2 separate regions of the Homo sapiens genome follow, and region 1 is linked to region 2. The links are contacts of gene promoters, found by promoter capture Hi-C in blood cells and fetal thymus (Javierre and others, 2016). All regions are on one chromosome and are shown on one strand. The core of a region is centred on a gene start or on the middle of the fragment in contact, and the rest is flanking DNA. Distances in the headings are between cores, read along the strand shown. Region 1 has its middle 35 kb from the start of MAP9-AS1. Region 2 holds the start of FGB (fibrinogen beta chain).

Region 1 (5,257 bases), core at 595-3,094, 760 kb before region 2:
ACTTCTGCCTTTTAAATTATAATTCTTTAATCAGAAAAAAAACCTCTTAAGCAAACAAGGTAAAATAGCTAATATTCCACAGAGTAATTGAAATTTGCCCTGTGGTACTCTCCATTTTCTGCAATATTCTTATCTCTAAAGAGAACAAGATGGATGGAGCCTATAAAGCCACAAAGGAAAAGAATAAGCTGGTAAAATAGTTCCTCCTAATGTTGAAATAAAAATGACTAATTGATATCATTTAGCCTTTTCCCAAGTGATCTATTATGAAAAGAACATTTGAATAGAGAACTCAGTAATAATTATTGAACCCCATGAGAAACCCTACATTAGACCAGAATAATATTTCTTATGTTTCATTGCGATATCATTAAAAATGCCTATGTTTTCCATGAACAAATAAAAGTCATAATATTTAGGTTTTATTCCCCTATCCCCAAAAATAAAACTTGATTGGTAGTAGCATGTAATAATGGAAACAAAAATTTCAAAGAACACATCTTTGGAATTAAAATAACCTGGGTTTACATCTCAGTTCTCCTGCTTAATAGCTACGTGGCTTGAATAAAAATCTTTAAGCCTCAGTCTTCTTATGTTTGAAATGTAGCTTTGTAAAATTTTTTTGACAAAAAAAGGATAATAAGAATAGTATAATGGCATAGAGGTGCCCTGCTGGAGATTACATTTGCTATTAGGCAGTTGCTCTTCCGGATTTAGCCAGTGAGAGGGCTCCTAAAAAGTCTGCTTGATTACCCAAGTGGGGACATTACTTTTTAAAGTGCTGAAGTGTCTTTTCTGTCTTTTAGAGATTGCATAAATAATGCTATTATCCAGAAAATGGAATACATGAACACTGTATATTTAGGCTTATTAGGCAAATATGCCAGATTTGGAAGGGGTAGGAGGGAGCTGAAGTGCCTTGGGATGTTTTCTTTAAGGAGAACGAGAAGATAGCCATGTTATCTAAGAGACGGTTATAACAAGGTCTTGGGTTAGATGGTATAGAAACTTGGGGTGGGAGAAGACGGTCAGGGTGGTCAATAGTAGCCTATTTGCTTATGCTAATGGTCCGAAAATAATGTGCATTGAATATAATGGCTGAAAAGCCCTGGGATCAGGGGATAAATCAGGAGAACCAATCTGGCAGTGTGTATTCTAGTAAAGACCAAGTCAGTAGTAATGTTTTTGTCTTCAGGAAATATTTCCCCTTAATATCAACTAGCTTCTCCATAAATCAGGAACTGGGAGCTTAAAACCTCTATTCTAGATAGAAACTAGGACAAAGTCACATAACCACATAAAATAGAAACTCCCCCACCGCAACATCTGTATCCTGCTTGATAGGACATTCACTACATATTTTTGTCTCTCTCCTGACCAAGATGATCTTAATGATTTCTTTAGCTTGACTAAACTTTAGACAGATTTCTTCTTGACTGTTGATGTCCCATCTTCCTTTTCTTCAAGCATTTACAGTAGAAAATTTGCTGTTGTAAATTCTTTCTCTGCCCTTTTGAAATGTAAATCTTCTCCCAGCCTTTTATCAGTTTGACAATCCAGGAATGTCTTTCTTAAGTACCTGGGATTCATTCCTTTGCAGTGCAATCATCAAGAAAAATTGCATCCCTATCTTCCAGTCTCTGGGGTAAGGTAGAAGCTTAACTTCCATAAGTGCCAAATTAGCAACACAAATGATCTGACCACATAGACACCTTAAGTTCCTCCAATACTTTTCTACTTGTTCATCCCCATAAGAAAAACACTCCAGGGTTCTGTGTTACGGGAGTTGAGTTCATTTTCTCTCTCTCTTTCTCTCTCTCTCTCTTCTATTGCAATAGTCTTGAATAAAGTCTTCCTTCCCTGCTTAATATGTCTGGTGTAATGTTTCTTTGACACTCCAGAGGAATGTAAGCTCTGTGAGGTGAGTGATCAGCCTGTTTTGTCATTGTTGTGTCTCTATCACCAATGCACTCACTCGTTATTTATTGGATCCATAAATCATGTCTTCTCGAGTCAATTGGACCAAGCTTTGAATCCTGCCTTTTATTAGCTATGTGGCTTTGAACAACTTGCTAATTCTCTAATTTTCAGTTTAGCTCAGTAAAATGGGGAAAAAGAAAAGCAATCTAATATCATGAATTTGCTACAAAGATTATACAGTGTATTAATATACATAAAGCATTCGCAATAAGTGAAACCTTTTGTAATTATTGTTATTGTTTTATCTGGTGAACTTAAGAGTGTTATATGTGGGCATTTTAAAAGGCCATGCTTTCATAAAAACAAAAATGAGGAATAGAGAAAGTCCAGGAAAAATGAAAAGGACAGAGTAGCTGATAAAAAAATCCAAAAATTGAGAGGGAGAAGGTAGGTAGGCTTCAGGAAAAAAACTAAATAGTATGTGATACAACAGGCTAAGTGGAATTCTACAGTTTTATTATGCCTGTTTCTCAGGTAGAATAAGACAGTGTGCCTCCATACCAATTGTTACCATGGGTTAGCTCTGTAGCTCATTGAAAGGTGTGGCAACATTCCCAGAAGGATGGCCTTCTTAGGCTGTGCCTTCTGGGTGGTCCAGTAATGCTTTTTACAGGGTCATCTGTCTGGAACTCATCACAAGAGTGAGCAACACCCAGTCTAACCCACCCCTATATTCCTCTGAGACTTGGTTCCTGAACTATCACGGAAATAATAATATCTCCTATAATAAAGACAGAAGGGGCCAGGCACGGTGGCTCACGCCTGTAATCCCAGCACTTTGGGAGGACAAGGCAGGTGGATCAGGAGGTCAGGAGATCGAGACCACCCTGGCTAACAAGGTGAAGCCTCGTCTGTACTAAAAAATACAAAAATTAGCCAGGCGTGGTGGTGGGCACCTGTAGTCCCAGCTACTCGGGAGGCTGAGACAGGAGAATGGCGTGAACCCAGGAGGCAGAGCTTGCAGTGAGCCAAGACTGTGTCACTGCACTCCAGCCTGGGCAACAGAGCAAGACTCCGTCTCAAAAAAAAAAAGAAAGAAAGAAAGAAGGCATATTTAATGCATGTTCAAACAGTAAAATACAGTGTTGCAGCCAAGGGAAATATTTAATGGCATTAGAAAGAAGAACACTTTTATCAGGAAAGAATGCAACTAGGAGGCCAGTTTTAGTTCAGCCTTATTATGGAAATCTGTCCTTCCCACTGTGGAAGCGTGGCAGAGAGACATACAAGTTATGACCAGAGAGATTTAGGCATTTAAAAAGAAAGGAGCACATGGGTGACTTTACACAGAAGTAAATTATCCCTGAGGCCATAATAGCAGAGGGCTATTGAAAAAGAGGGAAACCCCTAAAGAACCAAATTATATAAATCTATGTAGGCAGGACAAGCAGTGAAAAGGGTTCTAGAAAGGTATGAAGATATAACATACGAGCTGTGAATGGAAATATGGAAAATTTCTGCCACTGATTCTGTGCTAGGGATATGAAATGTTATATTTTGAGACTCCATAAAATGGAATTTGTGAACAAAATGGTGAAAGCCTAATAAGATACAAACTTGACCATGGCAGAAATGTCCTGTAGACAAATTTAGCTCAGGATCTATCACTCATTTCTAGTGATTCTCTATACATGTGTGTTTGGGGAGAGAGGGGCAAGGAGTGAAGAGGGAAAGTCGGACATTAATACCAAAAAGATACTGTATGGTAGTCATGAATTTTGTATATATTTTCCTCTTCAACCTATAGTATAGTAAATTACACGTGGTTTCATTCATTTGTGTAGTTTCACTCATTTTTAGTTTTTTATTTCATTTCCTTTACCCAAGGAAATGAAGCTCCCAGAGATTTACATAAGTTAATATCCAGACCAAGTAGATGCCAGATGCCCATTTCAGCCAAGATGATGATGCCCAGAGAATTACCTTTTAGAGCCCCCCACCCACTGCTTGTACTAAGCTTATTTCTCATTTATCCTAAATTTTCAGACTCTCCTTAAACTTTATTATAGAAGAAAGTAAAAGTCATGGAATTACAGCCACAACTGTTCCCCAGGGTTAAATCTTCAGTTCTTTATCCACTTCATGCAGTGTATTACTTTTTGAGATGTAACTTAAACCAAACAATTAATCTCTTATGACACAGTGATATTCTTACACATATATACACATCTCCCTTTTGATCTGAAGGCCCACACAATCTTCCATGCCTTATGGGATCAACGCTACCTCTTCCTTATTAACCCTTTGCATTATCATTTATGTGACACTCTTGCAGTTTTTAGAGCTGCCAAGTAGTTTTCAAAAAACTCTGAAAACTATGCCATAAAATTTCAGAAATTATTTTGTTACCATTAATAACATAAAACTTTGTAACATTCTATTTATGGAGATAGAGAAACACAGTTATATAAAAATCTATTTCATAGTTTTACATTGCATTTTTTCAATTTATGCATGATGACAGTCCAATCACTAGTTAGAAGATAATATTTTCTTTTTGCTCATTTGCTTATTCAGCAACTAATTGCTGAATGCTACCTTATGCCAGGTATTTCTTCTAGTTGCTTCAGATACATCAATGGCAAAACAGACAAAAATTCCTGCTCACATGCAGCTTACATTCTAGCATCACTGAAAAACAAAACAAAACAAAAACCAGAAAGCAGCTATGAGGTTAGTCACTAGGAAAGACCCCTTCCTAAAGAACCAGTTTACTGATGTGAAGGTCCAAATGTGTACTCCCAGTTTTGTCTTGGTTCAGGTTAATATAATCTTACTCCAAGAGTTTAATAGATTAACATGATGAAATAATTGTCCTTGTTCATGCAAGTGTCTAATGACACAGAGCTGCTAACATAATACAACAGCACATCTTATTCATGCAGGTGCTCAATGGAGGCAGCTCTGTTGGCAGTGACTTTATTCCACGAGGTGCTTCAGCAACCTAGGTCCTTCCACCCTGTCTTTCCACTGTTTCTTAGCATCTCAGAGTCTTCTCCATTCAGTAGATGGAAAAAATGTGTGGAGAAAGACAACCTTCTCCTTTACAGGATTAGCCTGTGTATTAGTTTGTTCTCACACTGCTAATAAAGACATACCCAAGACTAGGTAATTTATAAAGGAAAGAGGTTTAATGGACTCACAGTTCCACATGGCTGGGGAAGCCTCATAATCATGGTGGAAGATTAAGAAAGAGAAAAGGGATGTATTTCATGGTAGCAGTAAAGAGAGCATGTGCAGGGGAACTGCCCTTTATAAAACCATCAGATCTGTGAGA
Region 2 (5,547 bases), core at 2,785-5,284:
CATTATCCACAACACAATTGAATATATTATGGATAACTCTCTCATTCAAAACCTCAAATGTTAAAACTATAAATGCTAGGGGTTTTTTTCCACTCTGTAAATATTATCTTCTGAGTCACAAGTTTCTTGTATACTTAAAATAAGGAGTCATAGTAGAATTTTTCATAGAAAATCACACTTGCTGATGTCAGACTGGGAATAAGAGCTGAATAGTGCTTATCTGGCAAGTTGCAGGGGAAGGTGCCCAAAAGCGTATGAATGCTATTCACTAACCCAGAAATGTTAATCTTCTCACAACCATGCATTCTCGTGGCAGTCTAACGGTTCCAATTTTATAGCTGAAAATCGAATGGAAAGCACAAGGATATCTACCTTTTACTTGCTTCTGCCTCTTTTGCCACAGGTCTTTCAGCAAATACATGTACTGAAAGGAAGAAGAGGAGGTCTGGGAAACAGCTTCCACATTGTTATTTAACTCATCAACACTATTTCTGATTGGCCTTTCCTGTTGTAGCAAAGCCTCTTGCAACTGACATCCTGTAGGACACAACACCCCCTAAAAACAAAGAAAATAGCAGGCATTAGATGAAGGATTTGGGTCATGGACATTTGTTAAAATAGCACATAGGAAAATTCAGCGATACGATTAGCCAACATAAAAATTTATTATTTGGTTTTCTGTAAGACCAGAAATTCGAAAGTCATCATCATACTCTCATAGAGATTTAAAATATTACTTACCCCAGAAAAAATATAATTGGGCTATGAAAATTTTACCAACTAAACAAAGGCAGTGGCAAAATACAAATGGAAAGGTGGCACCCACATATCCTAATTTGAAATTTTGGGCCCAGACCAAAGAAAACAAGAAAGAAAGCCTAAACCAAAGGCCCAATATGTTTATGTTTTGAATTTTATTTCCAAAATAAACAAACAAAATAACAGTGATGGTAATGTGGGTCAGTGAAACATTAGCAGACTGCCATGACTACAGGCTTTCTCTGCATGAGAGAGCCACCACTGCAAGAAACATCAGTGCACCCACCAGGTCTGGGTCAGCGTGAAGACAGCCTCCAGCATCAGGGGCTTTTCTTTCTACTTTCTTTTGAGTGGCAGCTGCTTTGGCTGGACGAGCCCGATAGCCACCTCCACTGATGGGCGGTGGGGCAGGCCTCAGGCTGGGAGCCTCTTCTCTCTTCTTGTCAAGGGGTCGATGACCACGGGCACTGAAGAAACCCTACAAGGAATGAGGCAGAAATATAATACAGAGTGTTATAGAAGATTTGGAATGTAACTATTCCAACACCCTCATTTTATAATTTAGGTTATCACAAGCTTGATAATTTGCTTAAGATCCATCAACTGGCTGGTTGGTGATAGTGAATCTGTAGGTTGCTTACTGTTCAGTAACAGTAGAAAGACCAACTGCACAAAAAAGCTATGATGCAGTGTAGTTTTTAAAGAGAGGCCTTAGGATAAAGCTGTATCAGATTATGAATAGTAATGACCTCATATTCCTAAAACATACATTGGAACTTACGAAATTGTAAAGAATCTATACTGTCAAGAAGAATGAATATTCTCAAGCCACTTGGATTGTTAGATTCCTATGATTATTGTTAATCATTTCCCTACTTTCATTTTTGTGAATTGGTGATTAGACTCCTATATAAACATATTTAAGAGACATTAAAGACTTATTAAAGGTTGATTCTACTTGGAATTTATTTGTAATAAGACAATCTTTGACCCTCATAATGTACTCTGGAGCTCGGCTACTTGTAGGTCTTGACCGTAGGGTTGACTTACAGCTATGAGACCTTGGGCAAGTTGCTTTATCTGTGCCCCAGTTTTCTCATCTGTAAAATAAGTGTAATGATAGTTTGAATCTGCCTTACAAGATTATTGTAAGGATTAAATAACTTATTGCATATGGTACCCTCAGAACAGTACTTGGCAATAATAAGTGCTCATTACTATTTTTACTGGAATCACACATAACAAGTACTACAGTTTAAGTGTCCTCTCCACTTCGAATTTCACTTTTAGTCTTATCTTCTATCAACAAAATTATTTGTTAAACCATTATCTTGAAATTTCTTACATGATTTCTTTATCAAACATTATGATTTTCTTATATTTAAAATAATTCTCAAGGCTTGTGCATTGTAATTAAAATTACTTGCTAACTTAAAATATTATATTAAAGGATAATGAAGCAGAAAATACGCATTGCAATAGGAAAGTTTTGATTTGGATTAACTACATTCTCATTTTTTTTTTTGTCAGTAGCTATACATCCTTTGGAGCTTAATTACAAATTAACAAACGACATGATTTGGAACAACTGAGCAACAACTGAGCTCTCTTGCAATTTTGTGAGTCTAGAAGTCATCAGATGAACTCTATTTGGAATTGCATTGTCATTTATTCATTAGATTATAATATTATTTAACATTTAGTAGGATGGTGCTAAGATTAAAACCCAGCCAGGCTGGTTCCAGATTTTCCTGTTTAACCAGTTGACTATATACATTCTTAATATGTAAAGATTCGGAGGATATATACATATTTCACATTGAAGTCATGGTCCTAGTCAGAGCTTACCCTCTCTAAAACAAATTTTAAGAAATGTGATTCATCTGCTTATTACAAATACAATTATAACAGAGAAAACTATTTTCTTTTTATTTCAGAGTGCCACTAGAGAGGTAGCATGGATGGTCTGGCTTTACTAGAGAAAAGGAAATTTTAAAAAATATTTAAAGAAAGTATATACTTAAAGAAAAACACTTAAAGAAATTATGAAGGCCACTTGTTGAATAATCAAAATCCATTTTAAAGCCTAAACTATTAAACTATCTCTGTGAGGTTTAGTTGATAAGCAGAAATGTGAAAGTGCTTTGCAGAGTACTTTACAAAAATTTCGTCTTACACATTCTTTACATTTTTCTTACCTAATATGATTAACCAGACTTAACCAGATTAACCATATGTTTTTACACACACAACCAGATTAACTATATGTTCTTACATGTAGAGTCTGATAAGTACAACACTCAAGTTCCCTTGAAACTCAATAATGATCCGAAATGAATCACTTCATTTAAATATTATTGTGTATTCTTATTTCTAGTTTAATGATACTATGCTATATGTAAGAAATTTGGCCATGATACGTTTGATGATAAAATTTAAATTTCTTAAATATCCATTGTCCTAAATGCATTTCTGTATTTTTAGTAACTGCAAATTAACAGCAATAAGTCAGCAAAAATAATAGTTGAGGACAAACTGTTCTACAAATAAATAAATTAGACTGAACCGTGTTTCATAACTATTAATAATAACAATACACACTAACTCTAATTTGAACTTTTCATCTGAAAAAAGCAATATTTCATTTTCTATCATTACACTTGATGTATTTTGCTTTTAGGCTTAGTTATAATTTTTATAAATAGTAATCTCAGTAACAATATATATTACCTTCCTTCACCAAAGAACAATCTACCTACCACCAGTTTCTTTTATCTTAAAATTCTGCTCTTTTATTATTTTATAGTTTGTGAGATTTTCAGATCTTGTCCTCTTAATTGTAATCCTGTATTGCTAGAAGTAAATGAAAATCACAGTACTCAGAATAGCAAGTGAGAAAAACACATCTTACATTAGCTAAGCCATCCTCATCTTAAGAAAACAAAGGTGATAAACTAGAAAACAAGAAATTACTTTGTTTTTATATAAGAAATACTATGAAACATTCTTTAAATACAATAAGTCAGAGGTTAACAATTCCATTTCATAACTATAAGCAATGCTAATTTCATTAAAATAAGCACATAATATGATTATGTTACATCTTATATTAATAATACTACTAATAATATAATAATGCTTTAAAAAATTCACCTCCTCATTGTCGTTGACACCTTGGGACTTAACTAGAAAAACACACAATAGTAGCAATAATAGATGTTTCATGGTTTTAAGTTTGTGGAAGCTCCAAGAAACCATCCTTTTCATGTAGACTTAACTGAGAGATCTTCAATCCTATATATATCTGAGTCCTCTGCTAGGAATGACTTCAGAAATGGTTACCTTTCCTTAGTTAATATTTAATTTTTGGTTCACTTGTTGGCTGAACCATTTTATCATTTAAGCAACATCTTCCCAGCAAAGCTTATTTACTTGTCATACAACTATTATTCTTTGTTGGTCTAGTTTAGAAACATTAAATTTCTTCAATTCATTTAATTGGACAAAATGATGGGAAGTTAGGGCACTCCTCAAAGAGAGATGTGTATCTTGTTTCTGGTAAATTAATGTGGAAACTACACAAGCTCCGAAAGAATATGTGAGAAAACAAATCTAAGCTTAGTAAATTTGACCTACTCACAAGGCAACCACTAAAATCGTGACTCATTAATGATATACCATAAATGCTTATGTTTTCTGACAATGACATAATTCTATTTCAAAAGGGGCCATTAAAATCAATAGTAATGTTATATCATAATGTGTTTATCTTTTGTTTTAGACATTAATCAAAATAACAAAATAACAAATTCATACCCTATTCTATGAAAAATACACATCAGAAAGACCCTTTTTTTGTGCTGAATAGCTTTAATATTTTGTCCTTAATTCACATAAGGTAAAATGTTCAACAAATTCTAAACATTATTAAGATAACTAATAAATTATAGATTTCTGAATCAAAATTATGATGATGATTAAATACATGTTTAACATTCTATTTTATTGTTATATAGTTTATATCATATGATTTATAAAAACAATGTTATTTTAACACTGGTGAAGTCTTCATACATCTATTTCAATTAGTATGCTCACAGACTAAATGAGGCCCATTTTCCTTCATTTCCCACAAGCCACAAAATTTATCTCTCTTGTCTGTTCACTTGTGTGTTGCAATCAGGATTAATAACTCCTACAAGAATCAATAGGAACACCAGTCAGTAATCCAAATCCCAGTAAGTGCATTGATTCAAAGCATTTTTCTGTTTTTTGTATGGAAAGTGAAACATTCTCATTAAATTTATAAATTATTTTATTAAAAAGATGGCAGGTTATCAGGGTTTGGATCAGCGTATTGAAACAATGCTTTGAAACAGAGTCTTGAGAATGGTGTGGGACCCACGACATTTCTTTCTTCTCCAGGTAGCAGAGATTGCATTCCCAAATTCTTTTAACTCAGATTCCTAGAAACAAATTATTCTCTTGGTAGCATAGGTTGTCCTCCCAAATTCTTTTAACTTAGCTTAATAGAGACAAAGTACTCAGTTTAAATTAAGAAAAAATATTCACTTGAGTCTTTCCAAATTTGTGTTCCCTTTATTAGCAATGAGTAAATATTATATTTTAAGATTTTTTTCTTTAGCTTTAATGGTTTTTAAAGGGATACATGATCTGACAGAAAAAGCAAATATCTATGTGGCTATTAATTAAAATATATACAGGAATATTTTCCATGAAAATATAACTGATAACAAAGTTTATTTTAATAATCTAGACAGGATTTTA

What was found. Contacts are between HindIII fragments. The CHiCAGO score rates a contact against its expected background, and 5 or more counts as called.
Region 1: a fragment that was not itself captured here is called in contact with the fragment with the promoter of FGB in region 2 in 1 of 17 cell types (activated CD4 T cells); the score reaches 5.3 in activated CD4 T cells.

The regions. Positions count from the first base shown.
Region 1 is chr4:155,316,090-155,321,346 of GRCh38, reverse strand. No RefSeq gene overlaps it. Among named protein-coding and RNA genes, the nearest start is that of MAP9-AS1, 35 kb to the left of the region's middle. The HindIII fragment of the contact is 370 bases long and covers 1,660-2,029 here.
Region 2 is chr4:154,561,498-154,567,044 of GRCh38, reverse strand. FGB (fibrinogen beta chain) reads right to left here and starts at 4,034. Exons shown (of 8, transcript NM_005141.5): 1 at 3,913-4,034; 2 at 1,046-1,237; 3 at 373-556. The coding sequence starts at 4,026. The HindIII fragment of the contact is 2,847 bases long and covers 1,338-4,184 here.